Linked DNA regions of Homo sapiens: regions 1, 2, 3, 4 and 6 are each linked to region 5. Evidence: promoter capture Hi-C in 16 types of primary human blood cells and fetal thymus (Javierre and others, 2016). All regions are on one chromosome and are shown on one strand. The core of a region is centred on a gene start or on the middle of the fragment in contact, and the rest is flanking DNA. Distances in the headings are between cores, read along the strand shown. Region 1 overlaps PPP2R3A (protein phosphatase 2 regulatory subunit B''alpha). Region 2 overlaps MSL2 (MSL complex subunit 2). Region 3 has its middle 11 kb from the start of PCCB. Region 4 has its middle 10 kb from the start of MSL2. Region 5 holds the start of NCK1 (NCK adaptor protein 1). Region 6 overlaps PPP2R3A (protein phosphatase 2 regulatory subunit B''alpha).

The links. Contacts are between HindIII fragments. The CHiCAGO score rates a contact against its expected background, and 5 or more counts as called.
Region 1: a fragment that was not itself captured here is called in contact with the fragment with the promoter of NCK1 in region 5 in 1 of 17 cell types (fetal thymus); the score reaches 5.9 in fetal thymus.
Region 2: a fragment that was not itself captured here is called in contact with the fragment with the promoter of NCK1 in region 5 in 1 of 17 cell types (total CD4 T cells); the score reaches 5.5 in total CD4 T cells.
Region 3: a contact is called between a fragment that was not itself captured here and the fragment with the promoter of NCK1 in region 5, in 1 of 17 cell types (naive CD4 T cells). The highest score is 5.1, in naive CD4 T cells.
Region 4: a fragment that was not itself captured here is called in contact with the fragment with the promoter of NCK1 in region 5 in 1 of 17 cell types (total CD4 T cells); the score reaches 5.3 in total CD4 T cells.
Region 6: a contact is called between a fragment that was not itself captured here and the fragment with the promoter of NCK1 in region 5, in 1 of 17 cell types (fetal thymus). The highest score is 5.4, in fetal thymus.

Annotation. Positions count from the first base shown.
Region 1 is chr3:136,085,580-136,089,049 of GRCh38, forward strand. It overlaps PPP2R3A (protein phosphatase 2 regulatory subunit B''alpha), which reads left to right. Exons shown (of 14, transcript NM_002718.5): 9 at 2,304-2,352. Among named protein-coding and RNA genes, the nearest start is that of MSL2, 110 kb to the right of the region's middle. The HindIII fragment of the contact is 1,286 bases long and covers 1,137-2,422 here.
Region 2 is chr3:136,183,493-136,186,742 of GRCh38, forward strand. All of the region lies in intron 1 of MSL2 (MSL complex subunit 2), which reads right to left. Among named protein-coding and RNA genes, the nearest start is that of MSL2, 11 kb to the right of the region's middle. The HindIII fragment of the contact is 3,496 bases long and covers 1-3,004 here.
Region 3 is chr3:136,237,733-136,241,221 of GRCh38, forward strand. No RefSeq gene overlaps it. Among named protein-coding and RNA genes, the nearest start is that of PCCB, 11 kb to the right of the region's middle. The HindIII fragment of the contact is 2,133 bases long and covers 466-2,598 here.
Region 4 is chr3:136,204,958-136,208,316 of GRCh38, forward strand. It overlaps the pseudogene RPL31P23. Among named protein-coding and RNA genes, the nearest start is that of MSL2, 10 kb to the left of the region's middle. The HindIII fragment of the contact is 2,366 bases long and covers 480-2,845 here.
Region 5 is chr3:136,860,554-136,864,073 of GRCh38, forward strand. It overlaps NCK1 (NCK adaptor protein 1), which reads left to right and starts at 1,655. Exons shown (of 4, transcript NM_001291999.2): 1 at 1,655-1,800. NCK1-DT (NCK1 divergent transcript) reads right to left here and starts at 1,510. Exons shown (of 3, transcript NR_110177.1): 1 at 1,194-1,510. RefSeq lists enhancers at 584-633, 1,194-1,253, 2,314-2,393, 2,404-2,523 and a silencer at 1,614-1,673. The HindIII fragment of the contact is 9,923 bases long and covers 607-3,520 here.
Region 6 is chr3:136,135,336-136,138,974 of GRCh38, forward strand. The region is part of intron 13 of PPP2R3A (protein phosphatase 2 regulatory subunit B''alpha); the gene reads left to right. Among named protein-coding and RNA genes, the nearest start is that of MSL2, 59 kb to the right of the region's middle. The HindIII fragment of the contact is 320 bases long and covers 1,581-1,900 here.

The sequences.
Region 1 (3,470 bases), core at 530-3,029, 770 kb before region 5:
TGATTTAATATTAACTAAGCACTAAGATACATTGATTCATTCTTCTCTCATAAGATTGTCCCTGTTCTGTCCTTAAATGCCTTCTCAGGCACTGTTGATTTTTAAATGATACTTTAGCTTATTAGATATAGCAGAGTATGAATCTTAAATAAATGCATTGAATTTTGTTTTTGTTTTTTGGTATGGCTGTTACTAATGGTATGCATCTTAAGAAAAGGCTCATCAGGCAGGGGGCAGTGGCTCATGCCTGCAATACCAGCACTTTGGGAGGCCAAAGCGAGTGGATCACTTGAACCCAAGAGTTCGAGACCAGCCTGGGCAACATGGTGAAACCCTGTCTCTACAAAAAATACAAAAATTAAAAATTAAAAAATGTCTTTCAAATGACAAAAATACAAATATTAGTCAGATGTGGTAGCACATGCCTGTAGTCCCAGCTACTCAGGAGGCTGAGATGGGAGGATCTCCTGAACCTGGGGAAGTTGAGGATGCAGTGAGCCATGATGGTGCTGCTACACTCCAGCCTGAGCGACAGGGAGACCCTGTCTCAAAGAAAAAAAAAAAGGTTTGTTGTATATGATGTCAGGTTTCATAGAGCTTTGCGTATTTAAGAAATAAAGTTGGCCAGGCGCGGTGGCTCACGCCTGTAATCCCAGCACTTTGGGAGGCCAAGGCAGGTGGATTACTAGGTCAGGAGTTCAAGACCAGCCTGAACAACATGGTGAAACCCCATCTCTACTAAAAATACAAAAATTAGCCGGGTGTGGTGGTGCGTGCCTGTAATCCTAGCTACTCGGGAGGCTGAGGCAGGAGAACCGCTTGAACCCAGGAGGCAGAGGTTGCAGTAAGCCGAGATCACACCACTGTACTCCAGCCTGGGCGACAGAGCGAGAAGGGGCCACTGAATACTCCATAATTATCCACTCACCAGACTGTCCCTAATGAGACAACATAGAATAACATGATCTTCAATTTTAGGAAGCTAAACCTTCCCAAGCTAAAAAATGCCTTTAAAAAAAGATTTTGGCTTTACAATTAAATATCCTTGCCTTTCCTATATAGCCCTCTTTTTTTCTATCTAGTACAAATTAACCCCATAAACCAATGTTCAGCAAAATATAGAAGGTCTTTATATAAGCTTTGGTGTGTGGCCAGGCACGGCTGTTCCAATACACATATTCCCAACTTTCTTTGGCCAAACCAATTTACCTTTATGCTAACTGTACCTAACTATGTGCAGAAGAATTCGATGCTGATAGCTGCTAAGTCCCTAATGACCTTATTGATGATCCTGAAATTTTAGTGTGCATGCCATTGCCTGGGGCATCTGTTAAAGAACAGGCTGGGCATGGTGGCTCACGCCTGTATTCCTAGCACTTTGGGAGGCTGAGGTGGGCAGATCACCTGAGGTTGTGAGTTCAAGACCAGCCTGCCCAACATGGAGAAACCCCATCGCTAATAAAAATACAAAAAAATTAGCCAGGTATGGTGGCGCATGCCTGTAATCCCAGCTACTTGGGAAGCTGAGGCAGGAGAATCACTTGAATCCGGGAGGCGGAGGTTGCAGTGAGCCGAGATCACGCCATTGCACTCCAGCCTGGGCAACAGGAGCAAAACTCTGTCTCAAAAATAAATAAATAAATGAAAGAACAGGTCTCTAGTCGTGTCTCTCTCTCTCTCTCTCTCTCTCTCTCTCTCTCTCTCTCTCTCTCTCTCTCTCACCAACATGCTAACTTAAGCCACGATTATCTATGTGAATAAAACTTCCTGATGGAATTTCTAAAAATCTTATGTTATATCATGTTAAACCCTGGGCTTTTATAAAATGGGAATATAAGAAAAGTATGTTTGTAGTGTGTTTGAGTAGCTTTTAAAAAAACTACTTGAAAGCATTCTCCATTGTTTTAACTTCGTTTTGTTTTATTTTACATTGTTTTAGGAGCTTACACAATCAGTTCTCCCTTGAATTTAAGGATAAAACTTGTCTTGTTTATAGGAAAATTGGTCTCATTGGATAAGATCAAAACAAATCCTATATATTTTTGTCCTAGCTGTCAGGATGTTCAGACCTAACTTAGCATTCAACTATATTAATACTTCCCAGATGTCAGCCACATTCATTTGCCTGTTATTTTTTAAAATTATATTAAAATTATGCGTAAATAAAAATGTACTCACATTCTCATCATGGACGATGGTTACGGTTTAGCTTGTAGCTAGTGAAAAGCAAATTTGTGAAAAGTATTGCCTTTATGGAGCATGTTTCTAACTAGCTTTGCAATTTTTTTTTTATCTACATTTAGCTTCATCAAGCAGGATTATTGAAAGGATATTCTCTGGTGCAGTAACAAGGTAAGAAAACGTTTAATGCTGTGTTTAAAAATGAACTACAAGTAATACCATAACCATCTCATTTTAGCAAAGCTTCCTGAATAATTTGGCAGTGCTATTGGACCAAATAATATCCTATAAAACATAGTTATGGCTTAATACAAGACAGTAATTCTTTTTTAAAAAAATAATTTCAACTTTTCTGATTCAGGGGGTACACGTGCAGGTCTGTCACATGGGAACACTGGGTGATGATGAGATTTGGTGTATGGAGGATCCTGTCACACAGGCAGTGAGCACAACACCCAACAGGCAGTCCCTCAGCCCTCACTGTGCTCACTCCCTACCCACTTCAGCAGTCCCCAGTGTCCATTGTTCCCATCTTTATGTCCATGTGTACTCAGTATTAGCTTCCACTTACAAGTGAGAACATACGGTATTTGGTTTTCTGTTCCTGTGTTAATTCGCTTAGGATGATGGCCTTCAGCTGCCTCCATGTTGCTGCAGGGACATGATTTCATAATTTTTATGGCTGCATAGTATTCAATGGTATATATGTACCACATTTTCTTTATCCAGTCTACTGTTGGTAGGCATCTAGGTTGATTCCATGTCTTTGCTATTGTGAATAGTGCTGGATAAACATACAAGTACCTGTATCTTTGTGGTAGAATGATTTATTTTCCTTTGGGTATATACCCAGTAATGGGATTGCTGGGTCGAATGGTAGTTCTGTTTTAAGTTCTCTGAGAAATCAACTGCTCTCCACCACAGCTGGACCCATTTACATTCCCACTAACAGTGTATAAGTATTCCCTTTTCTCCACAGCCTCACCAGCATGTGTTACATTTTGACGTTTTAGTAGTTGACATTCTGGCTGTTGTGAGATGGTATCTTGTTGTGGTTTTGATTTGCATTTCTCTAATGATGAATGATGTTGAGATTGTTTCATGTTTGTTGGCTGCCTGTATGTCTTCTTTTGAGAAGTGTCCGTTCATGTCCTTTGCCCATTTTTAAATGGGGTTGTTTTTTGCTTGTTGATTTAAGTTCGATATAGAGTCTGGATATTAGACCTCTGTTGGATACATAGTTTAAGAATATTTTCTCCCATTCTGTAGGTAGGTAGTTAAATCTGTTG
Region 2 (3,250 bases), core at 7-2,506, 680 kb before region 5:
ATCACTGCAACCTCTGCCTCCTGGGCTCAAGCAATCCTCCCACCTCAGCCTCCCAAGGGTCTGTGACTACAGGCACGCACCAACCATGTCCAGCTAATTTTTGTATTTGTTGTAGAGGCAGGGTTTTGCCATGTTGCCCAGGCTAGAAAAATCAAAGTTATTAAAATGGTAGTTATTTTAACTATATTCCATAAGTTCCAAAAGGTTTCATAAACCTACCAACAGAGCTTCAAAATACATGCAGCAAAAACTTATGATAAAACTCTGAAGAGAAACTGAAAACACATATAGTTCAGATTTCAACTCAATAACTGACAAAACTACTAAGAGTCTGTAAGAACAGAGAAAATAATGAACAATACTATCGACTAACCTGTGAAAATGTTTTAACTGACCAGAAATATTGTGAATCAACAACTGTTCTCTAACTGCCAAACAAGATAAAGCAATCCTGACTCTTATCCAGGTAATAAGATTTCACAAAATAATTGAAGATCACATCATTAGAATTCTATGGTCCTGGCCAGGCGTGGTGGCTCATGCCTGTAATCGCAGCACTTTGGGAGGCAAAGGCGGGCGGATCACGAAGTCAGGAGATAGAGACCATCCTGGCTAACACGGTGAAACCCCGTCTCTACTAAAAATACAAAAAATTAGCCGGGCGTTGACGGTGGGCGCCTGTAGTCCCAGCTACTCGGGAGGCTGAGGCAGGAGAATTGCTCGAACCCGGGAGGCGGAGGGTGCAGTGAACCCAGATGGTGCCACTGCACTTTAACCTGAACGACAGAGTGAGACTCCGTCTGAAAAAAAGAATTCTATGGTTCTGGGCTGGGCACAGTAGCTCATGTCTGTAATCCCAGCACTTTGGGAGGCCAAGGCAGGCAGATCACCTGAGGTCAGGAGTTCAAGACCAGCCTGGCCAACATGGTGAAACCCGTCTCTATAAAAACACAAAAAAAAATGAGCTGGGCATGATGGCAGGAGCCTGTAATCCCAGCTACTCCAGAGGCTGAGGTGGGAGAATCCCTTGAACCCAGGAGGCGGAGGTTGCAGCGAGCCGAGATCCCACCATTGCACTCCAGCCTGGACGACAGAGCGAGACTCCGTCTCAAAAAAACAAACAAACAAAAAAAAGAATTCCATGGTTCTGAACAACCTCCAGCGTACAAGAAGGGGCCTGGATAAATCCTTCATTCCTGAGAATTACAAACCCGAATTCTTACAGGAGCAAGTTAGATAAAGGTTAAAAAAAAAAAAAGGGGGGGGGGGGGACAAAGGTCACGTGTGACCAAGGACAAACTGAGGAGGACATACTCCTACCACCAAAGAAAAAAGCCAATCTCTCAAATCTAGCCAATGATGCTAGCCAATAATGGAATGCTTCCAATTCAATGCTTCCACTGTTGCAAAACCTCATACTTTTCCAGGAAGTGCCTAAAAATTTGGATTTTTATGTGAGGTCTAGGTTTGGAAACAGTAACCACCAACTCATTTTTTTTTGAGACTGAGTCTTGCTCTGTAGCCCAGGCTGGAGTACAGTGGCAGGATCTCAGTTCACTGCAACCTCCACCTCCCAGGTTCAGGCAATTCTCCTGCCTCAGCCTCCCAAGTAGCTGTGATTACAGGCATGCGCCACCACACCCGGCTTATTTTTTGTATTTTTAATAGAGACAAGGTTTCACCATGTTGGCTAGGCTGATCTCAAACTCCTGACCTCAAAGGATCCGCCAGCCCTAGCCTCCTGAAGTGCTGGGATTACAGGCATGAGCCACTGTGCTCAGCCCAATTCAGCAAATTTTTAACAAAGCTAAAAAAAAAAAAAAAAAGTCTGGAAATCAAATTCATAGCAAAAGTTATGCTTTAATCCAACAACCTCATCTTACAAATGAAACAGAAAAATCATTCAAGTCATCATAGAAGATAACTTCATCTAACCTTATCTAAAATACTATAGATATGGACACAAAAATCACCCTTTTAGAGGAAACTAAAACAAGGATGCTACCAGAATAACTTGGGACACAACTCTTTTTTTCTTTTTTTTTGGAGGGGGGGGTGGGGGAAGGGACAGAGTCTCACTGTCGCCCAGGCTGGAGTGCAGTGGTGCAATCTTGGCTCAATGCAACCTTCGCCTCCTGGGTTCAAGCAATTCTCCTGTGCGCACCACCACGCCCGGCTAATTTTTGTATTTTTAGTAGAGACAGGGTTTCACCATGTTGGCCAGGCTGGTCTCAAACTCCTGACCTCAGATGATCCACCTGCCTCGGCCTCCCAAAGTGCTGGGATTACAGGCGTGAGCCACCACGCCTGGCCAGGACCCAACTCCTCAGGAATGACAAAGCTGTCTTCCAACGCTGAAGGGCAAAATTTTATCAAAGGCTTTCTGAATTATTCCAGAAGACAAAACTAAAATCAATGGAGACAATTACATACAGACAAGGTAACTTGGGGAAAATGGAAGCCAAAAAAAAAAATTGTTCTAAAAGAGGTTGTCAAAACAACAGCATGGCTGTTTTGCAGAATATTTAGCTCAATTACCACAACCATATCGCTAAAAATCCCTGAAGAATTCTTTAACTAGGCTATCCTTACATTACTTCAAACCTAGACTACCTCAACTCTTCAGGTTCCCCAAAAATCAACATCCTTCCTTACTTCATTTCTGATATGAACTAAGTGACCTTTTGACTCCTTCAATTTTTCCCATATGTCTGTGTCAAACTGCCAGGTTTTGTCAGTTCTTCAACACCATTGTATAACTGTCCCTAGATATCCATGGGTGATTGGTTCAAGCATCTCGCTTGAATACCAAAATCTGCAGATACTGAAGTCCTTGATATAACACAACATAGTATTTGCACATAACCTAAGCATATCCTCCTCTATTCTTCTAATCAGGGGTCCCTAAGCCTCCAGGTTATGGACAGGCTCCGGTCCTTGGCCTGTTAGGAACCAGGCTGCACAGCAGGAAGTGAGCAGGAAGTGAACTGGGTCCAGCAAGCAAAGCTTCACAGCCACTCCCCACTGCTCGCATTACCACCTGAGCTCTGCCTGTCAGATCTGCAGTGGCATTAGACTCTCATAGGAGCACAAACACTATTGTGAATTGTGCAAGCAAGGCATCTAGGCTGCACACTCATTAAGAAATAATGCTTGATGATCTGTCACTGTCTCCCATCACCCCCAGATGGGACCCTTGTGGAAAACACGCTCAGGGCTCCCACTAATCCTACATTATAGTGAACTCTAT
Region 3 (3,489 bases), core at 282-2,781, 620 kb before region 5:
TTTCCACTTAAACTTCCCAGTGTACTATCTCTTTTCCCATTCCCCAAATCAACTACTCAAAACCGTTCTCCACTTTCCCAGGGTCCTTTAATCCTCAGTACCTTGCCCCACTTCATACTTTTTCCCATATACATTGGCCCAGTAGAGGGTGTGGCATACATAGATAACTGTCAACTAAAAATTTGTAATCCTTCTTCTGCTGTGTGGAGTTGCTACTGGAAAGTGGCTGGCCAGCCAGGGAGTACATTGTCATCCTTGCCCTTGCGTCCAGGTGGAGGTGGGGTCTTTAATAAACAGGGCTTCCCTTCCACTTGTCTTCTTCCCCATTCTCCAGTTGAATACAGACAAATCTAGGGATGATGAACCCACAAGACAGAAGAAGCCTGGGTCCTTAAATCACCGCAAGGGGGAAAGCTGCCCACCGTGTGGAAGAATAGCTACACTAGAATGTCAGGGTAAACAACAAGCTTCTATTATGTTAAGTAACTTAAACCTTGGGGTTTGTTACAGTTGCTAGCATTATTTTAAGCAATATAGAGATCATTTGTCCTTTTCTAAGATCTTTCTCATGCTGGGGTGTGAGCATGTTACTCAGTCTCTGCCAATTTGATGTTCCCACTCAATATTATAAGTGGGGGAGCCCACTATGCAAAGATACGCAATAGTATGAAAACTATTCACAGTGGCCTTGCAAATCCAGAAGCAGTCACAGCAAGGTCTGTCAATAGTGGTATCTAGGTCAATGTCCACTGTTCTTGTGGCATGAGCTTAGCTGTGTTTTTCTGCTTCTAGATTATCTTGCTTTTTGACTCTTTTCTATCCCCCTTGATAATTCCTTCCTTCCAATAATTCATTTTCTTCTTTAGGTATCCAGGATCAGTTCTCATGTACATTGTCTTTCCCATCTATTCTGGATTCTCTTTCCAAACTAGAGTGGGATTATCACTTTTTTTTTTTTTTTTTTGAGACGGAGTCTTGTTCTGTTGCCAGGCTGGAGTGCAGTGGCACCATCTCAGCCCACTGCAACCTCCGCCTCCCGGGTTCAAGCAATTCTCCTGCCTCAGCCTCCCGAGTAGCTGGGACTACAGGCATATGCCACCACTCCCAGCTAGTTTTTTATTTTTATTTTTATTTTTATTTTAGTAGAGATAGGGTTTCACCATATTGCCCAGGCTGGTCTCGAACTCCTGAGCTCAGGCAATCCACCCGCCTTGGCCTCCCAAAGTGCTAGGATTACAGGCGTGAGCCACTGCGCCCTGCCGGGATTTTTACTTATTAAACATCTATTGCATACCGTGTACTCTACATATGTTTTCTCACTTAATTTAATCCCTCCAACTATTCTATAGGGTCAATATTATTATCATGATTTTATAAGTGAAAAAACTGTAGCTGAAAGAGATGAACTGATTTGCCTAGTTACACTGCTTGTTAGTATCATTTGGAATCCAGTTTTACAGCACCAAAGCATGCTTTCCATCCTACCAGAAACCCTTCACTAGCTCATAATGAGGGCAATCCTCTCCAGCGCCCTTTCTAGCCTATAAATTGTTCTGGAAGTGAGGAATGCATCAATATTTACTTAATCCTTTCTTACATACAAAAGGGGTTATAAGGAAAGTTCTGTTGTTGCAGCTGTTTTCTAAGCCTTCAAACAATATTGTTTTTCTTTTCACTTTTTCTTTTCCTTCCCTCCCCTGCTTCTGTCTGTCTTTCCAAAACAACAAACTAAGGGTAACTGCAGAAGGTACAGTGGTGGCACCGCTTCATTTAGTTCTCTTGCTGACTTTCCTTAGACTGCACTGCAGTCTAAGAATGCTTCTTCCCAACCTTCCCTCTTTCTCTCATTCACTCAGGATCACACTTACATCAATCATAGGGTTGAAATTTTGAGCGAGTTGGATGGGAAGAACCATATCCTAATAAAAAGTAATGATCTTTATTACTTTTTTTTTTTTTTTTGAGACGGAGTCTTGCTCTGTCTCCCAGGTTGGAGTGCAGTGGCGTAATCTTGGCTCACTGCAATCTCTACCTCCCAGCTCAAGCCATTCTGCCTCAGCCTTCTGAGTAGCTGGGATTACAGGCGCGTACCACCATGCCCAGTTAATTTTTGTACTTTTAGTAGAGACGGAGTTTCACCGTGTTGGCTAGGCTGGTCTTGAACACCTGATCTCAAATGATCCGTCTGCCTCCGAAAGTGCTGGAATAACAGGCATGAGCCACCGCACCCAGCCTTGAAAATACATATGTCAGGTAGGAAGATAAAACCTATTTTATTTAAAAGTTTGTGTATTAAAAGACATGGTCAAAAGAATGCAAAGGGCTGGGTGTGGTGGCAATCTTTATTACTTTTGATGTTCCCCAGTGAGTATATCTTAAATGTCAACACCACCCGTAGGAAACTAGATAGGTTTCCCATGGTTCATGGGAAAGAAGCTGGCTCTAGTAATGGAGCTGAGCGTCAGATAATCCCCTCTTCACAGAGAAACTAGAGTAGCAAGAGAGAAAGTTCTTTCAATGACTGAATACCCCATGTATCTGGAACCACTGGGTACTGGAAACACAGAAATAAAAATGATAGAGTCCTTATCCAAAATAAGCTTATAATCTCATGGGGAGTCATATATGAATAGCTAATTTGTTTCCAGTTTCTAGATGTTAACCTCAATTGCTTTAGAACAGCATAATTCATACCAAAAGCTCAAAATCACCCATTATAATAAAAATAATTGTGAAAGTATCATAACTCATATAGTCTTTTAGAAATGCAGGAGGAATTATAAAAGAAAAAGAAGAAGAGAGGCCACTAATTAAAACAAACATTTCTTAATCTAGTGCCATGACTCTTGCCTTAGAATTTTCTAAGCAGCTGGAAGAGGGATAGGAAAAGCGAGGATGGAGAATAAAGGAAAAAGAAAGAGTATTTCTTGTATCCTGGCTGCACTTTGACTTACCTGTAACCCAGTATCAGTATCCAGAAGGGAGAGAATCACTAAGGCTGTTTTGGTTGAAATAGGAAAGGGCATCCTCACGGTGTTAGAGTCAGTATATTCAGAAGACAAGACTGGAGCTGTTCTTGTGAGTTCAGGGGCTCTTTGAATTTATATCCCTTTTCGTATCTTCCACCGTTCCAGCCAGGTGAACCTAGCATACCACAATTCTCAAAATGTACATCCCAATTCTATTACCAGGGATAAATTTTTTGTTTTGTGTTGTTTTGTTTTTGTTTTTGTTTTGAGACAAGGTCTCTCTAAGTTGCTCAGGCTGGAGTTCATAGGCATAATCATAACACACTGCAGCCTCAAACTCCTGGGCTCACACGACCCTCGGCCTCTCCAGTAGCTGGGACTAGAGGTGTGTGCCACTGCCTGTGGCTAATGTATAAATCTAAGTGGAATTGGAGCATATTGTAGGTAGGAAGGGTGAGGTCATCAGCAAAATCTGAAGAAGTGGGCTGGGTACAGTGGCTCACACCTGTCATCCCAGCAC
Region 4 (3,359 bases), core at 413-2,912, 660 kb before region 5:
TAGAGACGGGGTTTCACCGTGTTAGCCAGGATAGTCTCAATCTCCTGACCTCGTCATCTGCCCGCCTCAGCCTCCCAAAGTGCTGGGATTACAGGCGTGAGCACAGCGCCTGGCCAGAGATTTTTATATAATAATCATTGCAGTTGTTTATACTATTTTAAAAAGAACCAATCCAAATTTCCAGATTGAAAACAACCTATATTATGGATATATCTACATAGTAGAATATTATATAGCTATTAGGAATGATGTAAAAAATTAAAATGATATAAAAATGTATTTATTGACAGGGGAAGATATTCATAATATATTAATTTTTTTAAACCCTGATTAACAGAACAATTTTGGAAAAACTAAATATCCATGCATGGTAAAAAGATGACTATAAAGACATACACCAAAATATTATTTTTTTCTGGATAGTGGGATTGTGGAAAATACTTGTTTTTCTTATTGTCTGTATACCCATTTTGAATTAAAGCTTCCCTCTTCTATTCTCCAATATTGCCAAGTGCTTACCTCTTTCTTTTCTTTTTTGAAGGCAGTTTTATAATTTTATTCGATGTATTTGACGATCAGCGATTAGTTCTCATCCACGTTGAGTCTACAGATTTTTGAAGGTGGTAACAGGTATATAGGTAACCAAAGTATAGAAATTATTTGGTGAATCTTCATCCTCATTACGTTTTCTGGACAACAGCACACAGATTCAGTATGGAACATTCCTTGTTCCTTTGGCCCAGACAGCTTTGTTGAGCCTGGTATCAATGTGCACATCTGGAGTTCCCATCTCCTTCATGGCACATTTCCGAATCTCTTTGAGTGCCCTAGGGGCACACTTCTGGAAGCCCGCTCCATAGATGTGGTTGTGAATGTTGATGGTGTATGCTCGGGTCACTACCTCGTTGATAGCAGAACGGCCTTTTTTCTTCTCGCCACCCTTCTTTGTGGAAGCCATTCTGCCAGGTCCAAGTTGATAAAAAGCGTGTTTACCTCTTTTGTTGCACTACCACACTATGCTGCAGTTGTTGGTTTAGCCCTGTTTCCTCCCCATTATATTTCTATAACTCTTAGGAGGTCAGTTTTCTCCCTCTTTGCCTCTTATCCTCATTGCTTAGCATAAGGTCTGACATATAATAGGAATTCAATAATTGTTAAAATAATGATTAATGTGACAATATAAGTAAATTCACTAGTATAGTGTGTAGTACCTAATAGGCATGGAAAATTGTTTGCTTTTTCCTTGGGGAGAGATATAAAATGCCTTACAAATTTGAAGCCAGTTCTTGTTTCAGCTTGATCAAATCAATGTTAATTATAAGGTCCTTAATAAAACCAAAAGTGTGAATTGATTTGAAACACTCAGAATATCAATCATCAAGTATTTATTGTATGCACTCTAGCACTTTGGAGACAATGAAGTAAATACAGAAATAGTTGTAGTTATGTTTTCAAAGAACAAAGATCAGGCAAGCAGTCAGAGAGACTTTCTGACGGGTTAGATTGTTTACAAAATAGCTAATTTTTGTCTTCCTTTCCCTTCCTCTTTCACCCTCCTTCCTCTGTCCCCTCCTTTATCTTCCTCCACCAAAAACTCTCTGTAGAGATGATGTTCCCTCTCCCACTTTCTCAAGTTGCATTCTCCCTCATTGCTTATTATTTCTATCCCATCGTTTTCACCATTATACACATCCCTACCAGATTTTAACAAATGCCTGGCCGGGCACCATGGCTTATGCCTGTAATCCTAGCACTTTGGGAGGCCAAGGTGGGTGGATCACCTGAGCTCAGGAGTTCGAGACCAGTCTGGGCAACATGGCAAAACCCCGTCTCCACCAAAAATACAAAAAAATTAGCTGGGTGTGCTGGTGCACACCTGTGGTCCCAGCTACCTAGGAGGCTGAGGTGGGATGATTGCTTGAGCCTGGGAGGAGGAGGTTGCAGTGAGCTGAGATGTCACCACTATACGCCAACCCAGGTGACAGAGTGAGACCCTGTCTCAAAAACAAAAGCCACAAATGCTTAATCTACTGTCATTGTGGAAACCAATAAATCTAATTAAACACAATCTATGGGAAAGTAAAAATAGCATAATCTAAACTCATGAAAAATCTTCAGAGATTGGCCAGGGTAGTACTTCTTTATAGGGAGCAGTAAACCAGATGAAATTAAACTAGGCTGTAATTCAGACTGATACTTCTGTTCTTTCCTGATCATTCCTTTCTGACCATTACCAAACTTCCTCTTCCATCCTCTGCTCTTAGCTGTGGTCATAGCTCTCCCCTCCTCAGTCCTAGAGCTCCCAAGAACCACCTCCCTTCCCCCTCCAAGCAATTCCTGCTGATATTTTTTCCATAACATTTTCCAAATCAATGTATCTCTCCATTGATTTAATCCAAAAACATGTATTTAGCAAGTCAAGCACTCATTTATTTTACACCTCAAATATTAAATTTTTTTTTTATCTTCTTCATCTCTAACTCCAGCCTTAACAAAGCAGCTTGCTTTATTGGTCATCTACCTAAGACAGTGCCAAACGCATTAAGGGATCCACTAAATGTTACTGTTTTTATTCCCCAAGACACTTTCAACAGTATTCAAATGCCTATTAAATTTGTCCATTCATTTATGCAACCAACGTTTATTGCCAGTTATATGCCAGGCATTCAGAATACAAAAATGAATAATTCAACAGTTTCTAGCCCTCAAAGAGTTCACAGTCTAGTTGGGGTGGCAGCTATGTACACGGCTAATTTATAATTCAGAGTAGTAAGGATTTAGGGATCTACTTGACGCAAATCTAAAATGTCTTAGCAGATATGGCTGTTACATTATGAGTTAAACAAGCTTGTGTGGACTTTCCTGAGAAAAATAACTGCAATTATTCATGGCATTGTTTCTAAGGGAAAATGTGTTCTGCATTCCAAACAGTCAATTTAAAATTGAATTTTTGGAATACAGCCCATTTTCCCCTGGGGGCTATTTCTCCATTATCTAAGAATCCCTCTCTGTCTTAGGACAGTTTTCATACACAACTCCCACCTGTTCTACATAGCATATGGTACTACCTGCAGGTTGCATAGTTTCATGGTCATCACCTTCCTCACCTGGGCTCTGCACTACATGTTTAAGATAGTCCTCTGATCAAGCAGGTTGAGTTAAGCAGGTAGGACTGAAGTAGCCCCAAATCTGACTGTTTTAACATTTCACTATTAGAGAAGGTAGTGAGGAAGAGTCCATCAAGTAAGTGATGAAAGTTTGGAATTGCTGCTCTGTGAAAGGGAGAGGGAGTTGATTAAGGACATTAAAAAAGATTACTCATGCGTGTAATCCCAGCATTTTGGGGGCCAAGACGGGCG
Region 5 (3,520 bases), core at 405-2,904:
TTCAAGACTGAGCATCTGCATCTGATGGTAGCCTAAGACTGCTTCTACTCATGCCAGAAGGCAAAGGAGAGCTGGTGTGTGCAGAGATTACATGGCCAGAGAGGACGCAAAAGAAGAAAGGAAGTGCGACGTTCTTTTTAACCAGCTCTGGTGGAAATAAAGAGAACTCATTTACCCTCTCCCCAGGGAGGACATTAATCTATTCCTGAAGGAACCACCTCCATGACCCAACACTGCCCATTAGTCCCCACCTCCAACATTGGGGATCAAATTTCAACAGGAGGTTTAGGGGAACAAACATCTAAATTACAGCACAGGCCAACCACATGCATGCATTACCAATCACGTAAATAATTTTGAAGTTAAATGCAGAAAACTGCAAACTTTTGAGGCTGATATCCAGGGCCAGGATTAAAATAAAAAGTATTAATGCCTTAAACAGTATTTACTGACCATCTACCCTACTGCAAGGCCCTAGGGAGAAACTGAACAGACATGGTTACTGATTCAACGGAGTTTACAATCTAGGTAGACATACAGGCAAACCATTTCAATAGCTCGGATGGAGAAAACACCTGTGCTCCAAGGAAGGTACCTAACTGAGCAAGCTTCCCTGAGGAGCGATCCTAAACTGTGCCACAAAGATGGTTAAGAAGAGATGAGGCGGCTGGGCGTGGTGGCTCACGCCTGTAATCCCAGCACTTTGGGAGGCCGAGGCTGGCGAATCACGAGGTCAAGAGATCGAGACCATCCTGGTGAAACCCCGTCACTGCTAAAAATACAAAAACATTAGCTGGGCGTGGTGGTACATGCCTGTAATCCCAGCTACTCGGGAGGCTGAGGCAGGAGAATAGCTTGAACCCGGAGGCGGAGGTTGCAGTGAGCCGAGATCGTGCCACTGCACTCCACCCTGGCGACAGAGCGAAACTCGTTTCAAAAAAAAAAAAAAAAGAGGCAGGTTACGGCGCGGGGGCGGGGAAGGGGGCCTGCAGCACCGGCGAGGGGAAGAACCAACTTACTGATGCCTCAGCCAGTGGCTGGAGCCCTAAGAATGGACAGACCTGGCTCCGAAGGTCCTCTTCATAACACTACTGCCGCCAAGAATGTAAGCTGCCCAAGCACGAGGACACTTTTAGAGGGCCCTCAGACTCAGCTTCTTTTGGTCTGTGCCTCAAATTAAGCACATGTCTTACATTTCTCCCAGGTCCCAATTTTCAGGTCTGCTTTTCTTTGTTTTTCTTTGTCGCTCCCCGCTCCTAAGAACCTTCGGCTGGGATGACATTCTTCAGGTGCAGAAACCAGGGGGAAGCTCCCAGAGCAGTGGGGGCTGAACTCAGGACACAGTCATTTTTGCTGTTAAGTCTCTCCTGCGGCGCTGAGGAGGCAGGCTCAAAGTAACCAACCAGAGCAGCCGCAGAGGGAAAAGCTAAGACAGTTCTGGTCCGGCCCAGCGCTTCTCACCCTCTAGCTCTCTACTCTCCGCCGCGCAGCCTCCGCTCCCTCCACATCAGGCACGGCGCTTGATTGACATGAGGGCCCGCCCAATCCCAGTGCGGCAGAGACCGTTGTCGCGTCAGGGACCGGGGAAGGGGGCGACTGAACCTATCAGATTGGGTCCAGAGTGGGTTTCCTGCCCGCGCGGATCCGCCTGCCCACCGCGCGTGCCCCGCCTCTCTCCCAAGAGCTACGCGGCGGCGGCGGAGCGCAGGCCTCGTGCCGTTACGGCCATCACGGCGGCCGCAGTGGCGTCCTGGAGCCCTCCTCAGGTGAGCTGGAGCTGCCCGGCTCGGCAGCGGGAAGGTGAGACGGCCTTGTTGGCAGGCAGACACACACACACCCCCCTTCAGTCCGCTGTCCGTCCATACAGCCTGTTACTCGCTGCGTCGCTTCCTCTTCTCGCGCTGAGTTAGCCCCGGGGGCGCCGTCTGCAGGCTCGGAGCCGAGCCGGAGGGGGCGCGGAGGCTGCTCGGAGGGTCCAGACTTCTGCACCGGGATTCCGCGAGACCCTCGGGCCGTTGCCCCAGGGAGCGTGACCCCGCGGCCTCCTTGTCAGCCCCTGGAGCGCTGTGTCGGGCTGAGAGCCCGGGCGGCCGCCCGTGCGAGCCTGGGAGGTCGAGTGTGCGGCGCGCTGGTTGACTTGTCTGTTTTCTCATGAAAAAGTCCTTTTGCCAGCTGTGGCGTAATCCGAGGCCGGGAAGGTAGGGACGTGGTAGGAGGAAGGGCGCTCTCACCTCCAGCCCGAGAGGAGGGGAGGCGTCAGCCTGCGCGGTGCTGCGGGTGGACATCTTCGGGACGCGCCCTCTCCCCTCCCCCCACCCACCGGCCGTTTTCTAGTCTGGGGCTGTGACTTTAATGGTCTGGACCTGCTTCAGATTCGTACGCGAGTTGCTGGGGCTGTGAACTTTTGACTTGAGTTGTAATATGTTTGGTAAAACAAAAAACCATTTCGATAGGTTTTGTAACCTTTCTTCTGTATTAACATACAAGTTAAATTCGCCGTTAGAAGCTCAGGAAGCTGGGTTTTGTTCAGGGGTGAGGACGTAACCGTAGGAACGCTCTCGGTGTCAAACTGATGGACCCGGAGTCACCTGAAAATAATTATGCACGTTAGATTAGGTAAGAAGCCCTAGAAATTAGGAAAGAATTAGGTTAAAGAGAATTTCCTAACTCCTCTTTGGGTAGGGAGCAAAGCAGCTCAATGTCCTCCCAAAACGGGTGTTGCCAAAAGGTACTCATTTTTAAAATTTTACTTTGATAGACGTATGACAAACCAACTATAACGATTTCTTCAGCACCTGGAAACCAGTGTGCCTAGACTCTCAGCCTTCGGCGAGGTCACACAGTAAACGGAGAAATAACCTAAGAAGAAAGTTTTGTTTGGTAATTGTCAATAATATTCGTTCTTTTCTTTTTAAAACACTTAATTTTCTTGTGGGGGGTGGAGTCTGTGATATTCTTAAATAGGCATCCCATTCACAACTTGATAGTAATATGCACTGGTTGATAAATGGTGCTTTCTTTTCATCTTGACCACAAACTCTGAGACTTCTTTGGGAAAATTGTGATCTGTGGAAATTGGCTGTAATATCCATAAACATAGTTTGCAGAGTGTTCACATCTACTCAGCTGTTGGCTCATGTATTAAATTTTAAAATGTGTACTTATTTTTCTAGGCATTATCTTTTGTCCAGGTTTTGACAGTGCTTTCAGGTCCATCTAAATAAAATTTGAAACCTACGTGTAATGTTTTGTTCGATACTGAGGGAGTCCAGGCGGGGTAGCTCAAACCTGTAATCCCAGCACTTTGGGAGGCTGAGGCGGGCGGATCACGAGGTCAGGAGATTGAAACCACCCTAGCAGACACGGTGAAACCCCGTCTCTACTAAAAATACAAAAAAGTAGCCGGGCGTGGTGGCGGGCGCCTATAGTCCCAGCTACTCGGGAGGCTGAGGCAGGAGAATGGCGTGAACCCGGGAGGCGGAGCTTGCAGTGAGCCGAGATCGCGCCACTGCACTCCAGC
Region 6 (3,639 bases), core at 491-2,990, 730 kb before region 5:
CACTAGAATGTGAACAAAGGAAAGGAAAGGAAAAAGCCCGTTTACAGGAATAACAACTGACCAACTCGTGCAAAAGCAAGGCCAGACCTAAATTCCCAAGGCTAAATCAACTAGGGTTTCATCTCAAGAAAGAATCACAGATATGTCAGGGAGAGTCTAATTGTCAAACAGAAATTGCCAGACTCAGGTATCAGAAAGGGAGGAATGTTAGTACCACAGAAAGACCAGAGGCTTAGGAGCCAGACAGATCTGGTCCACTCACCAGCTGGGCAGGTTACTTGACTCCTGAGGCTCAGTTTCAGAAGGCATCAGCATCCACTTCCTGAGGTGGTTGTGAGAATCTAAGATATTATATGTAAACACCTGGCACATGGCTCATGATAAATAGTAGCTATTACTACTCCATATAGGAGAAATACAATGTAACATCATGGGCCCACTGCAGTGGCTCACGCCTGTAATCTCAACACTTTGGGAGGCCGAGGCAGGCAGATGAGGCCAGGAGTTCGAGACCTGCCTGGCCAACATGGCAAAACCCCATCTCTACTAAAAGTTAGCTGGGCGTGGTGATGTGTGCCTATAATCCCAGCTACTTGGGAGGCTGGGGCGGGAGGATCATTTGAATGAACCTAGGAAGGAGGTGGAGGTTGCAGTGAGCTGTGATCATGCCATTGCACTCCAGCCTGGGCAACAGAGCAAGACTCCGTCTCAAAAAAAAAAAAAAAAAAAAAAAAAAAATTATATATATATATATATATAAAAAACATCATGGTTAAGAGCATGAAATTTGAAGTTAGACGAACCTAACTTCAAATCCTTGCTTTATCACACAAGCTGTGTAATCTCAGGCATCCAAGCCTCAGCATCCTCTATAAAAATAAGGGTACGACTTGGCACACTGAGCTGTTTTAAGGATTAAATAAGACAGTGTATATAATATAAGGCCCTTAGGCATAGTGTCTGTGTAATCAATAAACAATGGCTATTTATTGCTACCACTTTTGTGATCACATTACCTAACCTCTCTGAAGTAGAGTTTATTCAGCTGTAACATTAGCATTCTATCCCTTATCTTGTTCCCTTCACTCCTAGGGCACATTTTACTGCTTGACACAGTAAATATCTGTTGCATGAACAGCAGGATTGTACTGAGAATTAAGAGATAATGTATATAATGAATCTAACAGTGTCTGGTATATTAATGCTAAAAAAAAATGGAGCTATTTGTTTTACCATTAGATTGTGAGCTCCTCAGGGGCCAAGAACGTTTTCTTAGTCTTGTAGTCCCAGCACCTGGCAAACTGTTACGTAGGAGGTCCTCAGCAAATGTTTACTGAAAGGCACAGACCACAGCAATACAGCAGCCACCCTCACTACAAGGATATCTACAGTAGTCCAGATGATTTGGCCCTCCAAAAACAACTTAAAATCCTCCACCTACTTTACCATCTAACAACAATCACAGGTAGCCATTGTGCTAAGCATCTGTACCTCCTGATTTCAAGACTGGTACTTATGTAATGTCTTCAGTAAGTAACCTCGTAATCACTGCAGGTCTCAGTGAGGTGAAGCAAGACCAAAGCTTCCGTAAGTATGAGGCTGTAAACATTGCAAATTAACATGTCTAGCACACAAAGTGATCACAGCATACAACAGCATTTATATAAACTCAACCCTCGTAAGAGAAGCCAGAAAGACAGGGTACCAGTTACTTAATCCAAGTCAACTAAATGTGTTACCTATATGAAGATAACAGGTTATGATACCATATTTATAATTAACATTCTTATGGTTTATGCAATGGAGTACATTAAAAACACCACAGAAATTATGTAAAGAAGGCTAAAGGGTCTTCCATGTTACTATCCTAAGAAACTGAGACCCTCAATAATCAGAAACAAGCTTTTCTGCCAATTTGACTAATACTTGAAAAAATGGAAAATATAAAGAGATTAAAATCACTCTTGGTTCAATGATCCAGGGATAACCATTATTTTATACTTGGTATATTTCTTTTTAACACTTGTTACTAATGTGTTCAAAAACAGGAATTTTAGTGCTTCAGTGTTCTCAAGCAGTAACTCACATCCATTTCCCTATTATTGGACATTTGGGCAGATTAGAACTGTTTTCTATTGAATGTTTTTAAAGGCAGCTTTTTCCTTTATATTAAAAATATATGAATTACTCTGTCAGAGATTTTTTTTTTTTTTTTTTTTTTTTTGAGATGGAGGCTCGCTCTGTCGCCTAGGCTGGAGTGCAGTAGCGCGATCTCCGCTCACTGCAAGCTCCGCCTCCCAGGTTCAGGCCATTCTCCTGGCTCAGCCTACCGAGTAGCTGGGACTACAGGCGCCTGCAAGCACACCCGGCTAATTTTTTGTATTTTTAGTAGAGACGGGGTTTCACCGTGTTAGCCAGGACGATCTCGATCTCCTGACCTCGTGATCCGCCCACCTGGGCCTCCCAAAGTGCTGGGATTACAGGCGTGAGCCACCGCGCCCGGCCTCTGTCAGAGATCTACATTTACATCCATCAGCACTGGAAACTAAGGCACTATAGGTAAAGAAAGCCAGCCAGAAACCCATTAGAGCAATCGTCCAGGAATGTAACTAGTGAGAAGTATGAAGCCCAACTCTCCTCAGTGAGGTGGGAGAATGTAGGAGAGGAACAGGGAAACAGGGAGAATGGAGGCTTGTGTGTATATATTAGGGTATAGGGAAAGAAAAAGAAGGAATGACATGAATTAATATTCTAAAACATGAGTTATAATATTACAGATATATGAGTTTAGAATTATTTTTTAATGCTTAATAAACAGAGCCTCTACGTGGGCCTGAAGTTAATGTTTTATTTTTTTCCACATTGAACGAACCATATCAAAGCCCAATTTTAATTTATTTCAACAGATATTTACTGGTACCTACTCTATGCCAGGCACTGTGCTTGGTAATAAACATGAATTCAGACCGCGTCCTTCCAGTTCATAATTAGAATATATTTAGCCCACATTTTTATGCTGTCTACATCCACAATGAGTAAGAATTAACAGTTGATAGCTCATGATTCTGAAGAACTGCAAGAGTTCCTTTAACCATCAAAACTGAAGTGAAATCTACTTCCTGGGACAGGAAAGCAAGTGGTACATATTAGGAAACTTCAACAAGAGTTGAAACTAAAGATTTTCTGGTCACTGGATGGGTTAAGGAAATTCAGTGAACCAAATATCCAACTTCCAAAATTTCAGCTAATCCATTTTATATAAGTGGCTTAGGATATCTATTTTTAACTTAAAAGTATAAAGATAAATCACACACTTGTATTTCTGAAGCATTATAGACTCCAAACTAGAGAAATATTGAATTTTTTTTTTTTTTTTTTTTTTTTTTTTTTTTTTTGAGACAGTTTCGCTCTTGTCATCCAGGCTGGAGTGCAGTGGCACAATCTCAGCTCACAGCAACCTCCACCTCCCAGGTTCAAGCGATTCTCCTGCCTCAGCCTCCCGAGTAGCTGGGATTACAGGCATGCACCACCACGCCCAGCTAATTTTGTATTTTTAGTAGAGACAGGGTTTCTCCATGTTGGTCAGGCTGGTCTCGAACTCCCAACCTCAGGTGATCTGCCCACATTGGCCTCCCCCAA